4 separate regions of the Homo sapiens genome follow, and regions 2, 3 and 4 are each linked to region 1. The links are contacts of gene promoters, found by promoter capture Hi-C in blood cells and fetal thymus (Javierre and others, 2016). All regions are on one chromosome and are shown on one strand. Each heading gives the region's core, a stretch centred on a gene start or on the middle of the fragment in contact. The rest is flanking DNA. Distances are from core to core; before and after follow the strand shown. Region 1 holds the start of NEIL2 (nei like DNA glycosylase 2). Region 2 overlaps FAM167A-AS1 (FAM167A antisense RNA 1). Region 3 overlaps MTMR9 (myotubularin related protein 9). Region 4 overlaps FAM167A (family with sequence similarity 167 member A).

What was found. Contacts are between HindIII fragments. The CHiCAGO score rates a contact against its expected background, and 5 or more counts as called.
Region 2: a fragment that was not itself captured here is called in contact with the fragment with the promoter of NEIL2 in region 1 in 1 of 17 cell types (naive B cells); the score reaches 6.0 in naive B cells.
Region 3: a fragment that was not itself captured here is called in contact with the fragment with the promoter of NEIL2 in region 1 in 1 of 17 cell types (total B cells); the score reaches 6.9 in total B cells.
Region 4: a fragment that was not itself captured here is called in contact with the fragment with the promoter of NEIL2 in region 1 in 1 of 17 cell types (naive B cells); the score reaches 5.2 in naive B cells.

What each region holds. Positions count from the first base shown.
Region 1 is chr8:11,768,319-11,771,018 of GRCh38, reverse strand. It overlaps NEIL2 (nei like DNA glycosylase 2), which reads right to left and starts at 1,309. Exons shown (of 5, transcript NM_145043.4): 1 at 684-1,309. LOC124901888 (a long non-coding RNA gene) reads left to right here. Exons shown (of 2, transcript XR_007060824.1): 1 at 1-141; 2 at 611-2,217. RefSeq lists silencers at 919-1,048, 1,089-1,498 and an enhancer at 659-1,159. The HindIII fragment of the contact is 12,492 bases long and covers 725-2,700 here.
Region 2 is chr8:11,386,011-11,388,710 of GRCh38, reverse strand. All of the region lies in intron 2 of FAM167A-AS1 (FAM167A antisense RNA 1), which reads right to left. Among named protein-coding and RNA genes, the nearest start is that of FAM167A-AS1, 19 kb to the right of the region's middle. The HindIII fragment of the contact is 1,611 bases long and covers 628-2,238 here.
Region 3 is chr8:11,303,356-11,306,055 of GRCh38, reverse strand. It overlaps MTMR9 (myotubularin related protein 9), which reads right to left. Exons shown (of 10, transcript NM_015458.4): 4 at 1,042-1,215. Among named protein-coding and RNA genes, the nearest start is that of MTMR9, 20 kb to the right of the region's middle. The HindIII fragment of the contact is 958 bases long and covers 905-1,862 here.
Region 4 is chr8:11,434,514-11,437,213 of GRCh38, reverse strand. All of the region lies in intron 2 of FAM167A (family with sequence similarity 167 member A), which reads left to right. FAM167A-AS1 (FAM167A antisense RNA 1) reads right to left here. Exons shown (of 7, transcript NR_026814.1): 5 at 2,112-2,384. Among named protein-coding and RNA genes, the nearest start is that of FAM167A, 31 kb to the left of the region's middle. RefSeq lists enhancers at 273-792, 793-1,312. The HindIII fragment of the contact is 317 bases long and covers 1,157-1,473 here.

The sequences.
Region 1 (2,700 bases), core at 60-2,559:
GCTGCCGACTTATTTCCCACTTTTGAAGGGACCAGATGCCGCCCTCCAGGACCGCCGACCACTAGCGTGGGGGAGGTGTGCATGAAACGACCAACACGCAGACAGAGCTCAGAATCATAAGTGAGACCCCCAGCCACGTAGGTAAGCCCGGCATAGCTACAGACAGTTATCTCTGATCCCCGAGAAACAGCTGTGGTTCTGTTCTAATCACCACGCAGGGCTCCCAGGGCCACCTCTACTCTCCCTGCCCCCAAATCATCCCAGTCCACTGACAGCCGCCTACATGAGGCAGTCTGAGTGGTGTACACCCGGGCTGTTCGGGCAGAGGAGACTCCCAGCCTCACCCGGGGCAGCTGCCTAACCACCTGTTCCTGCACCAGCCTCTCTATAAGTTATGATGAAAATCGAAAAGAACTAAGTAGATATCGGGCAGGGGGTAGCTATTATATTTCAGTGATTCTAAAAAACATTTTAGAATACTTTTAAAATCTAAGAAATGGTGACGGCTCACAATCTCGGCATTCTCATATTCGGCAGCAGCACATTCAATAACGCGCATCTTACACTCGCTGGTGCCGATTCGCTGAGATGTACTATTTCCCCTCATCAGGCTTTCCAGACACTCCCCAGGGAATCCTGACAAAACCGCCAGGCTGGAAGGAGACGTGCCAAACGCTGCTGACCTTAACCAGTTGGATGCCTGATCCTCTTCTACGGGGAAGCTTCTGGAAAAGCCTTCATCTGAAATGCACCAAGTCCTGAAAATCTCCGGACACGTGGGCATGTTTCGTTTAGGGATTTTTATGGAGATGGACAGGTGGGAAGCAAGCCGCCTCTGCAACAGCCTTGAAAGATGAGACGCGGAAGGGACTTCGAAGAGTCGCTGAAGATGCCGCGCCCACCCTCCGGCCCTCCCTGCCCGGGGGCTACCGAGGAGCTCGAGGCTGGCGCTGCGCCAGCCAGGGAAGAGGAGGGGTTGTCTCCGCCGTTCTCTTCCGAGTGCCCGAGGTGGGGGGTCTAAGACCACTGCTTTCCCAACTCTGCCTCGGGGTGCGGGGAGAGGGGCGCAGACGCGGGTCTGAGGGTCAGTGGGGGCCTCCAGGCGTGGGCAGCACCTCCGCAGGCGGCTGAGACGGAGGAGGGCCCGGGGCCCGCCCTCCCTTCCTGTCCCCTCCCGACTTCTCCGCCAGGCCGCAGATCTACCGGAGGGCGGGCGGCTGCACTCACCGGCTCCGGGTGGGTGGCACGTCGGCCCGACCCAGCACCGCTACGCAGCCCGCACAGCCGCTCCAGCTGGGGGCGGAGATTTCCCGGCTCGGCGGCCCATGCGGCCTCCGTCCCCTTAGGGGACGCCCCTGTAGGTGGAGGCTGCGGGGCTCCTCCCCCAAGTGGGCGTGGACTCCGGCCTGGAGGGGGTGGCGGGGTGCGCGCAGGCGCAGGGCTCATTCCCTGGAAAGTGGGTCTAGGTCGAGGCTGCTCTTTTGTGGGTGGGCGAGGGGTTCCATCCCGGGGGTCGCTGGAGGCAGGGCTGCATTAGAGGGTCGCGAGTGAAAGCAGGGATGGAAGAAGGGTGCAGGCTGGGACTAACATTGGAGAGACGCTCTTGGAAACTTTTTTTTTTTGCGGGGGGAGATAGTCTCGCTGTGTCACCCAGGCTGGAGTGCAGTGGCGCGATCTCGGCTCACTGCAACCTCCGCCTCCTGGGCTTAAGCCATTCTCCTGCCTCAGCCTCCCGAGTAGCTGGGATTACTGGCGCCCGGCTAATTTTTGTATTTTTAGTAGAGACCGGGTTTCACCATGTTGGCCAGGCTGGTCTTGAACTCCTGATCTCAGGTGAGCCGCCCTCCTCGGCCTCCCAAAGTGGTGGGATTACAGGCGTGAGCCACCGCACCCGGCCCTTTTGGAACATTTCTTGTCTCAAGGAGACAGTTATAGGGAAAAGTCAATGGGTGTGTGAATGGGACAGCCTGGGTGTTCCCACAATGGCAAGCCTTTCTGTGGGTTCTGCTTGGCCTCCGAGCCTAATGAAGTCGGGTGCAAAGGAAACAGGTGTTCAAGACTCGTGAAATGTTGAACGGGTGGGATTTTTTTGCTTTCTATTATTTGAATTTTATTACTTGAATTTTTACTATAAGCAAATTTTGCTTAAAGTATTTGTGTATTAAATTTTTTATTTCATAGAATAAAAGAGATAAAACAATAGGCTGTTTAAAGATACATATGTTTTCTTGTCTTTAGTTCTCGAAGGAGGATGGGGAGCCAGCACTTTCCAGGAAGTTGGGAGGAAAGTCTGGGGAACTCCCCAGCAGGTGTTCAGGAAATAGGCTGGGGTGAAGTCACCATGGACCCTAGCTGAGGGGTCCCTGGGGAAGGACTTGGTCAGCACAGGGAAACAAGCCCAGCCCACCGTCAGAGACATGGTTGTGTCCTACTGATTGAGAGGGAGGTTACAAGTGGCCTTCCCACAGTGGTCACCTACTGAACAGGCTAGGGCAGGAGGTGAGGAGAGGGAGGCCTGGGGAGGCCTAGGGTATAGGGTCCTCATCTAGAAAGGCATCTGGAGGCAGAGGGGATGAGGTTGGAGGGCATGGGGTTTGCAGGAGGCATCCCTTGAAGAGCCTCTGGTCCCCCTCTTTCTATGTCCGGCCTTTTCTGGAGAATAACGACCCCCCCACCCCCAGGATGCCCCTGCTATAGGAT
Region 2 (2,700 bases), core at 184-2,683, 380 kb after region 1:
ATCAGCTCACAAGGTCTGAGCCTCAAGACCCGAGCAGAGCGGCCGGCCGATAAGCTAAGTGGGGCCTGTAACTGCTCCAGCACAGGTGCACGACCCACCCTGTTTTCCTCTGGCACGAGCACTGCTGGCTTGTCAAAGACTGCCCTGCTCTCAGGCCTGCTGCCCTGGGCAGGTGGTGGGAGTGAGATGGCAAGCTTGTACCCTCACACTAGAGCTGTCGCCCTTTAGGTGGACATCCTTTAGCATCGTGGTTCTTTATCCTTTGGGGTGGAAGGGGACCCTTTGAGAATCTGATGAAAAGACAGCACCCTCTCCTCTAAAAAAAAAAAAATGTAACATCTAGTGTGCAGTTGGGCGTTTGGATTTTAAAAGTTGGCAAAAGGCCTTTGATTCCCTGGAGGAAGAGGAGTGGGAATTGGGAGAAATGTTACCTGAGGTTCGACACTGAGGAGGAGAGAAAGGCAGGGTGCATGATCTCTCTAAGAGTGCCCAGGGAATGAAGAAAGGACACCACGTCCCTGAACAATAGACTCAGGCATTAGGAGAGCATTTTCAGGTGGTCCTGGCTTGATCACCCAGCTGGGGAAGATCACGGTGGGGGTTCAGTAAGATTATTCACAAGAAGCTTTGGGAATAACATGGAAGTATCTTCTTACCTCTTTTCTCTGTGGGTTTTAGTAAATAATTTTAAAGCACCATGATGGAATCTGTGCATGGCCGTCAGGATGCCGGACAACTTTCAAAGACGGCTGCTGTGACAGACACTGAGGTGGCATTTGTTGGGAGTGCATTTCTCCAGCTTCTCTAGGTATTCTGATATCTTGATTCCCACAGACTTAAGTCCAAGTCAGCTATTCCCAAGCAGTGGAGGTAGATAGGGTATCAGTACCTTGTCAAGAATAAAAGCCCTTGGTGAGCTAATAACTGGATTGACTCATTTCCCCAGGCAGGTAGCTTCATGAATGAGAGCCCAGCAACCTGTCGCCAAGGTTGGTTGGGCAGGAAAAAATGCATCCAGTCTCTGCAGCATCTGTCCTGGGAAGGGCCAGCCCTCTTGAGCTCTGAGTGTGTTTTTTTCATGTTGGTTATATCAGGTTCCTTGAGAGGCAAAAGTGAAAGGCAACTCTTGGGTCCTGGCTTCCTTGAGGAGGCTGGGGTGCCACTCCGTCCATCCAGACTTCAAATGGACCCACACTGATGTACATCTGCTCTGTTTCACTGGCACTGTTTCATTTCTGTCTCACAACAATCCTCTAAAACCAATACGACCCTACACAATTTTCATAGAAGATGAAATGCTTGTTTTCCTGGCATCTGGTTCAGTAATGAAAATGTGTTTTGAATGGAGGTGAGCAAACAGGGCTATCAGGAGAGCATCCAGTCCAATGGGCGGCAGGTGTGCAAACAATGACAACAGGTCTTCTTTCTTGGGAAGAAAGGTGCATGTGGATCTGGGGCCTCTGAGCAGGGGTGGCAAGATGGGATTTGCTATGTAAGAGATACGCTTGGACAAGTTCCCATGAGAAACATGGGGAGCTCCTCCTTTGTGAACGGAAGCCTCTCCCAAAACGTTTGATAATTACTGCTTTAGCAAAAGAAATGCTTTTTCCTTGAAAAACAAAAGCTCAGGCACAGTTGGGTTTCTCTCTCACTATTGCTCCTTGCATAGCTCCAACTACCATATTAATTTTTTTAACTCATACAGATTTATCTTAACCATATTAATTTTCATTACTAGCCAAAATGTCTTCTACTTCACAGAGAAAAATGGTGGGTAGAGAAGTGAGAACTGTTTATCTTAGACAAAGATTTCAGCAGAATAGCAAAGTTCATAACCAACCTTCTATAGCCACACACATTCCTTTTACGCCTTCTGAAAGTTCAAAAATGAGCAGTCATGCATCTGATCCCAAGATACAGCCTCTCTAAAGCACAACAAATAAAAAGCAATTGCATATAAACCTAAAATTATGTTGCATAATCAATGTTTTGTCATTTGATAGTATTTAGAGGTCATCTAACTATACAGTGATTATCCATTAACTCAACTTAATATCAGCCCCAAATTCTAAGTCATCTAAACACCTAGAAAAGTATCTTCCAGCTACAAAATATAATTGCTGTTGAAAGAAAAAGTTTGTCACCATAACGAATGAATTTAGTTGAGCACAAATTTCCTGGTTTAATGATCCTCAACATTATGTAACATTAAGTAATCGCTTATTTGATGAGTAAGCTTGTACGAGTTTAGGAAAGACAAACCAAATAAAATGCATGCTTGTGTTATATACATCGATAAATAGGAGAAGTAACGTGGCAATTTTTTAATCAAAATTATTATTAATAATATTTTGAGACAGAGTCTTGCTCTGTTACACAGGCTGGAGTGCAGTGGCACGACCTCAGCTCACTGCAACCTCCGCCTCCTGGGTTCAAGTGATTCTCCTGCCTCAGCCTCCCGAGTAACTGGGATTACAGGTGCGCACCACCACGCCTGGCTAATTTTTGTATTTGTAATAGATACAGGGTTTCACCATGTTGGCCAGGCTGGTCTCCAACTCCTGACCTCAGATGATCCACCCGCCTTGGCCTCCCAAAGTGCTGGGATTACAGGCGTTAGCCCCCACACAGCCTGAATCAAAATTATTAAACTAGTCTAGTTTGCCAAAGATTAATCTTAATTATGTGAACTTGGTTTCT
Region 3 (2,700 bases), core at 134-2,633, 470 kb after region 1:
AAAGAAATATTTGCATGTATTGACAATAGTTAATAACTATAAAAGATAAGCCTTAAGCTTTTACACAATTTCTCTGTCTCAAAATACTGTCACATAATAAATTATATCTCCTCTTTAAGATCAAATATTGCAATTCATTTAGTGTGTGAATCAAATACCTGTAGACCTGGACCTGTAATAAAGACAATAATGGCCTATGAGCCAGTAAACCTTGACTTCAACTAAACATACATAGAGTTGGCAGGTTTTAACAACAATTATAAGAAGTAAAGGCACCAGTGGCAAAATTTAAAAGTTCAAACACTGTTCTCATTGTTTGGGAAATCATTTTCACTACCTCAGAAGCTGACTGTCTATTATGTATTCTCCAGTGGCCTCTACCATCCTTTTCAGTATTCAAGGATTTAACTACTTGTTTCTAAAAACTACCCCACCAACTATACATCTGGAAATGTTTGCTTTTGAAACTTTTCTCTAGAAATCAATGTCTATTATACTAATCTCTTCCCTGGCGAATGGTTTAGAGTTCTTTCAAGACGCCACCATTACAAGGTAGTTATCTTAACTCCTTGTTTAATCCTGACTCCAGTGTTTACTAGAGTTGTGACTAAATGACATGAGCATCACTCTTTTCACCTTTGAAAATAAATACGTCTGCTCCACCTTTCACGTGTAAAGTTGTTAAGAAAAATTCAAGTATTTTACCATTATTCTGAACAGAGAAATTTCTCATTTTTCTACCAGAAGAATGTTGCTGTAAGCATCAAATAAACACTAGTTTCCTTTGTATAGTGTCCTGGAGATAAAGCTATCAGGGCTTTTATACGGCTGAGCAGGATCATGGAAAGAATTCAGCATCACATCCTCACCACAGAAAACACCCTACTCCTGATTCCCTAAAGCTTACATGAAGGAAGCCCTTGTGGTGGAGACCTGGACAATCATTTCAGTGAACAGACAGAGAGCAAAAGGGAACATTTCTACGAAAAGATCCCCAACCCAAGCCTTTCAGTACATCAAGCAGTAGTGCTGTGCACTTACCATCCCATTTTTTTTGTGGTAATAGCTTAGTACTGGGAAGCGCCCTCCATGTCGAAATGTAGCTACCTTCCGAAGAGCTTCATCATCGATGGATTTGGGCACTGTGACAATTGGTGGGTAAGAGGGACAGACAGCAAATTCCTTATTGACATAGCTTAGCCTCCATTCACTGGTCTGAAAAACACAAAATACTTCAAAGCTAAGCAACTATCTCAATGTCGCAAAATAATCTGAGAAATTTTAAAAGACCTTAGAGGTCAACTTTCACTGATGAAGAAGCCATTTCTCAGGAATTTCACAGGTGGATCTCTAGCTTATATGTAAGTAGCTGCAGAGAAAAGGAGCTCTATGGTTCAGGGCCAGCTTCCTGCATTGCTAGGTATCACCAGTTCCCAGAAAGTGCTTTCTCACACTGAGCAAAACTTGTTGCTCTGTAGCTCCCTCTATTGGTTTTTACTGTACTTTCAGACAACACCGTACAAGTTCCCTATTTTACACGGTATCCCATCAAATGTTTGAAAGACAGCTGATCCTCCTTAGTGTTCTATTCTCCAAGTTAAATATATTAAGCACATCCACAATTATCACGGCCAACATCATCCTACTTCTTCCTTTTCTGGGTCCCATTTAGTTTGTTAATGATCCTCTTAAAGCACAAGTAAGACTGTACGACTCCAGATAATGCATCCCCAGAACAAATGAGAACACAGCTACTATCTATATCAAACCCTTTGTTTATTTTAAAAAAGGTAAAAAATGTACTAAGATTGGTAACACCTTTCTTAAAACAGTACCAACTCAATACTAAGGAAGGTTAAGCTTAGGAGTCAATGAAATAATTTCAAACTGAGTAAGGACTAGAAGTATACAATATAAAACTATCAAATGACAACTTATTTTAAACATCAGAATTAAAAACAGCTTGAACACTGTCAAAAGGTTTTACAGTAAAAAAAAAAAATCAAATTATATGTAAATTTCAATATGTTCTGTATATCTGAGTTGGCCTAACCATGGGTTACAATAGCAGGAAGATAAAGCTAAAAAGTATGTTAGACGTACTAACAGACAAGATTATTACTTTTAAAAAATGCTTTTATAAGATACAGTATCACATTTTTAATTAAATTTTTTCACTTTTCAAAGTTATTTATGTTACCAGTTTAAAAACATAGTTTCTAGGCTGGGCACAGTGGTTCACACCTATCATCCCGGCACTTTGGGAGGCCAAGGCAGGCAAATTGCTTGAGTTCAGGAGTTCAAGACCAGCCAGGGCAACATGGCCAAACCCCATATCCACTAAAAATGCAAAAATTAGCCAGGCACAGTGGCACACACTTGTATTTCCAGCTACTTAGGATGCTGAGGTGAAAGAATCACGGGAGCCCAGGAAGTCGAGGCCACAGTGAGCTGTGACAGCGCCACTGCACTCCAGCCTGGGCAACTGGAGTGAGATTGTTTCAAAAAATAATTAATTAATTAATTTAAAAAAAACACAGTTTCTAAAGATTTATTATTTTTAAAAAAATGTAGTTATCTGTTCCTTGCTAGCCCATCCCAATTTGCTTTCCCCAAAGGCAATCATTTTCAACATTTTTAGCTTTTTCAGTGTTTACCTTTACATTTCTAAACAACATGATAATACTGTTATTTCTTGAA
Region 4 (2,700 bases), core at 66-2,565, 330 kb after region 1:
AGCAGGAATTTGAACTCAGATCTGCCCGACCTCAAAGCCCTGCAGTGGGTCTGGATTCACCCACCATGCTATAGGAAACTGTGAGGCCCCTGGCAGCTGAAGCCCAAAGCATGTTCTTCCCAAGAAGACAGGTACCCGAGTAATGGAGTATGAAGTGACTTTGGAGAACAAAACAGCCTCAAACTTGCCTGGAGGCTGGGGCAGAAAATAGATTTGCCTCACTTCCCTTTGGAGGCGCAGGCAGGAATCTATAGCAACTGCAGGTGCCTGGGAGCCCTATTTAATCCCACAGGTCCCCACTCCAGCAGCTCATGTCCTGTCCTCAGCTCTCCCTCCCTTGAGGTTAGCAGCCTACTGACACCTTCCTAGCTGGTTCTCGCTCAGCATCAGATGTGAAGCTCCCGCTACATCTGTTTCCAAAGCAGGGGATAGAGAACCCAAGAAAAGCCCAGAAATCCCAACAGTTGTGCCCCAGGGGTCTTCTGAGGGCTCTCAGGTGACCCCAGGGCACTTCGGCACTCCATTTCCATAGGACAGTTATCACCTTGGCTAAAGCTTCCAGTTTCATGTAATGCAAGCCCCAATTCCTGCCTGCAGATGGGGGAGGCCTTCCTGCAGGTGGAATTGAGAAGGCCGTGCAGGGGAGCTCCTGTCGGAGCAGGGAGACAGCCCCTGCTAGGGGGTGTCTTCTCTCCCTCCGCCGACTGGCCCAGAGACCCCCAGCAGCATGGCCGAGCTCACAGAGGTGAGGGAGCCAGCCCTTCCTGCAGGTCTTGCCGGGGGCCCAGCAAGAACAGCCGTACCTGGGCCATGCTCGCAGCCTGGCAGGGGCAGCAGTCCTGGGACTGGCTGCTTGGCCTCACGAGGGCCCCCACTTGCTCTCCAGGGGAGTGGCAGGGAAGTTGAGGAAGGCCTTGGCCCCTAGTGGCGGGCCTGGCCCTCCTCATGTGCAAGCTAAGGACACCCCTGAGTGGGAGGGTCCCCACCGCATCTCCAGTCTGAAGTGTATTGGCATTACCAGCCCTTTGACGTTGGCAACACTTGGTGATAGAGACAATAACACAGCCCTACCCAACCCCGGACCATGCTTGGTGACGTGTGACAGGCAGTACAGTTGTCAGCGATAAGGGAGCGCTCAGTAAAGGTGGGTGAAGCTTGGGCTGGGGACCCGCCCTGAGCCAGGCTGTGAGGAGCAAAAAAGGCTCTGGCAGGGACCCGGCACCCAGGAGCTGGGGCAAGCGCCACATGGGAAGTAAAAACGTAACTGAATGGTTTGCTCTGTGGTTCTGTGTATGAAGACGGGATATGGTGGAACTAGTAATTCCGGAACTCGATGTCCTGTACAAAGTGTGTGGATATGGGCTTATTTAATTCTCATAAATGATCAGTAGTGTGTGCCCATTTAATTACGGTCAATTATTATCAGTAAGTGGGTACTATTATGCTCATGTAGCAGATGAGGAAATTGAAGCTTAGGTGTGGGGTGACTTGCCCAGGGTGGCGTCACCAGCAAGTTGAAGAGAAGGACTTTGAACCAGGGGCTGCTCCTCTGTCCTTTCTACTGGCTGCCTCTCCACAGGCCTGGGGGCAGTGGGAGATCCCAGAGGGTGGCGGTCAGCCCGGGTAGCAGAGGGAGGAGTGAGGTCTCCAGGACTGTCCCAGCCGTGGAGACAGGTACTGGGTAATGTAGTGTGGAAAATCAAGACTTGGCTCTGGGGAAATTTAACTAACGGATTGATTCATTGATTCATTCATCTAACAAATGGCTTTTGAGCACCAGAGCATGCCCTAGGCACTGTGGTGGCCCCAGTCTCTGTCTCTCCTCTGGTGTTTTGTCATCTAGACACATGATAAAAAATGAAACCAATGCCCAACACGTGGGTGCCATGGTGGAGGCCGCATGGAGGGGCAGTGGTAGCAGGCGCCCATGGGGCTGTCATCCCCTCTGCAGGGAGAGGGACAAAGGCTGAGCTGGTCCTGAAGGGTGACAGGTGGAGAAGGGACCACAGGGGAGGGGACAGAACCTCAGTGTGGCTGCCCTGTGGGGGCAAGGGCATCAGAGTGGGAGAGGAGGCTGGAGAGGTCAAGGGAACAGGAGGGTCCCGTGATACCTTTGAAAGATTTGAAGAAGCAGGGAGACCTGCCCATCAGCCTCTTGAGTGGAGACAGATTGAGTGAGGGGGGGAGGCAGGCAGGGAGGAGGCCCAGATGCTGGGAGCTGAGGTGCAGAGGACCCAAATGCAGGGGTGGGTGCCAGTGATGCTGTCCTCTGGGCCTGTCCTCACCCAGCCAGCAGCAGTCACATCTCTCCCACTCTCTCTCCGGCACAGAATGTCTTCCTTGGGTGTACAGCTTCCAGAACCTCCTCAGTTCCAAGATGCAATCTGATGGGAGGGGAGGAAGGTGATCAGCATCCTCTCTCTGTGTAGGGCACATGCCACCTGTCCAGAGTCATCATGTCATCAGAGGCTGCACTAGGACTGGAACCCAGAGCCCCTAGTGGCAGATCTAGGGGCTCTTCGGAATGCATCACTCTGTCCTTCCCAAAGGCCAGCCTCACCCCTGAAGGTGTGTAGTTTGGCCCACACCTTCCAAGTTTGAAAAATTAAAGGCCTGATCACAGGGGTAGAGCTTAACTCTTCCTGTGGAGTCCTCGGCAGGGCCCGAAGAGCCTCCTGCTCTATGCCTGGCTCTGGGGCT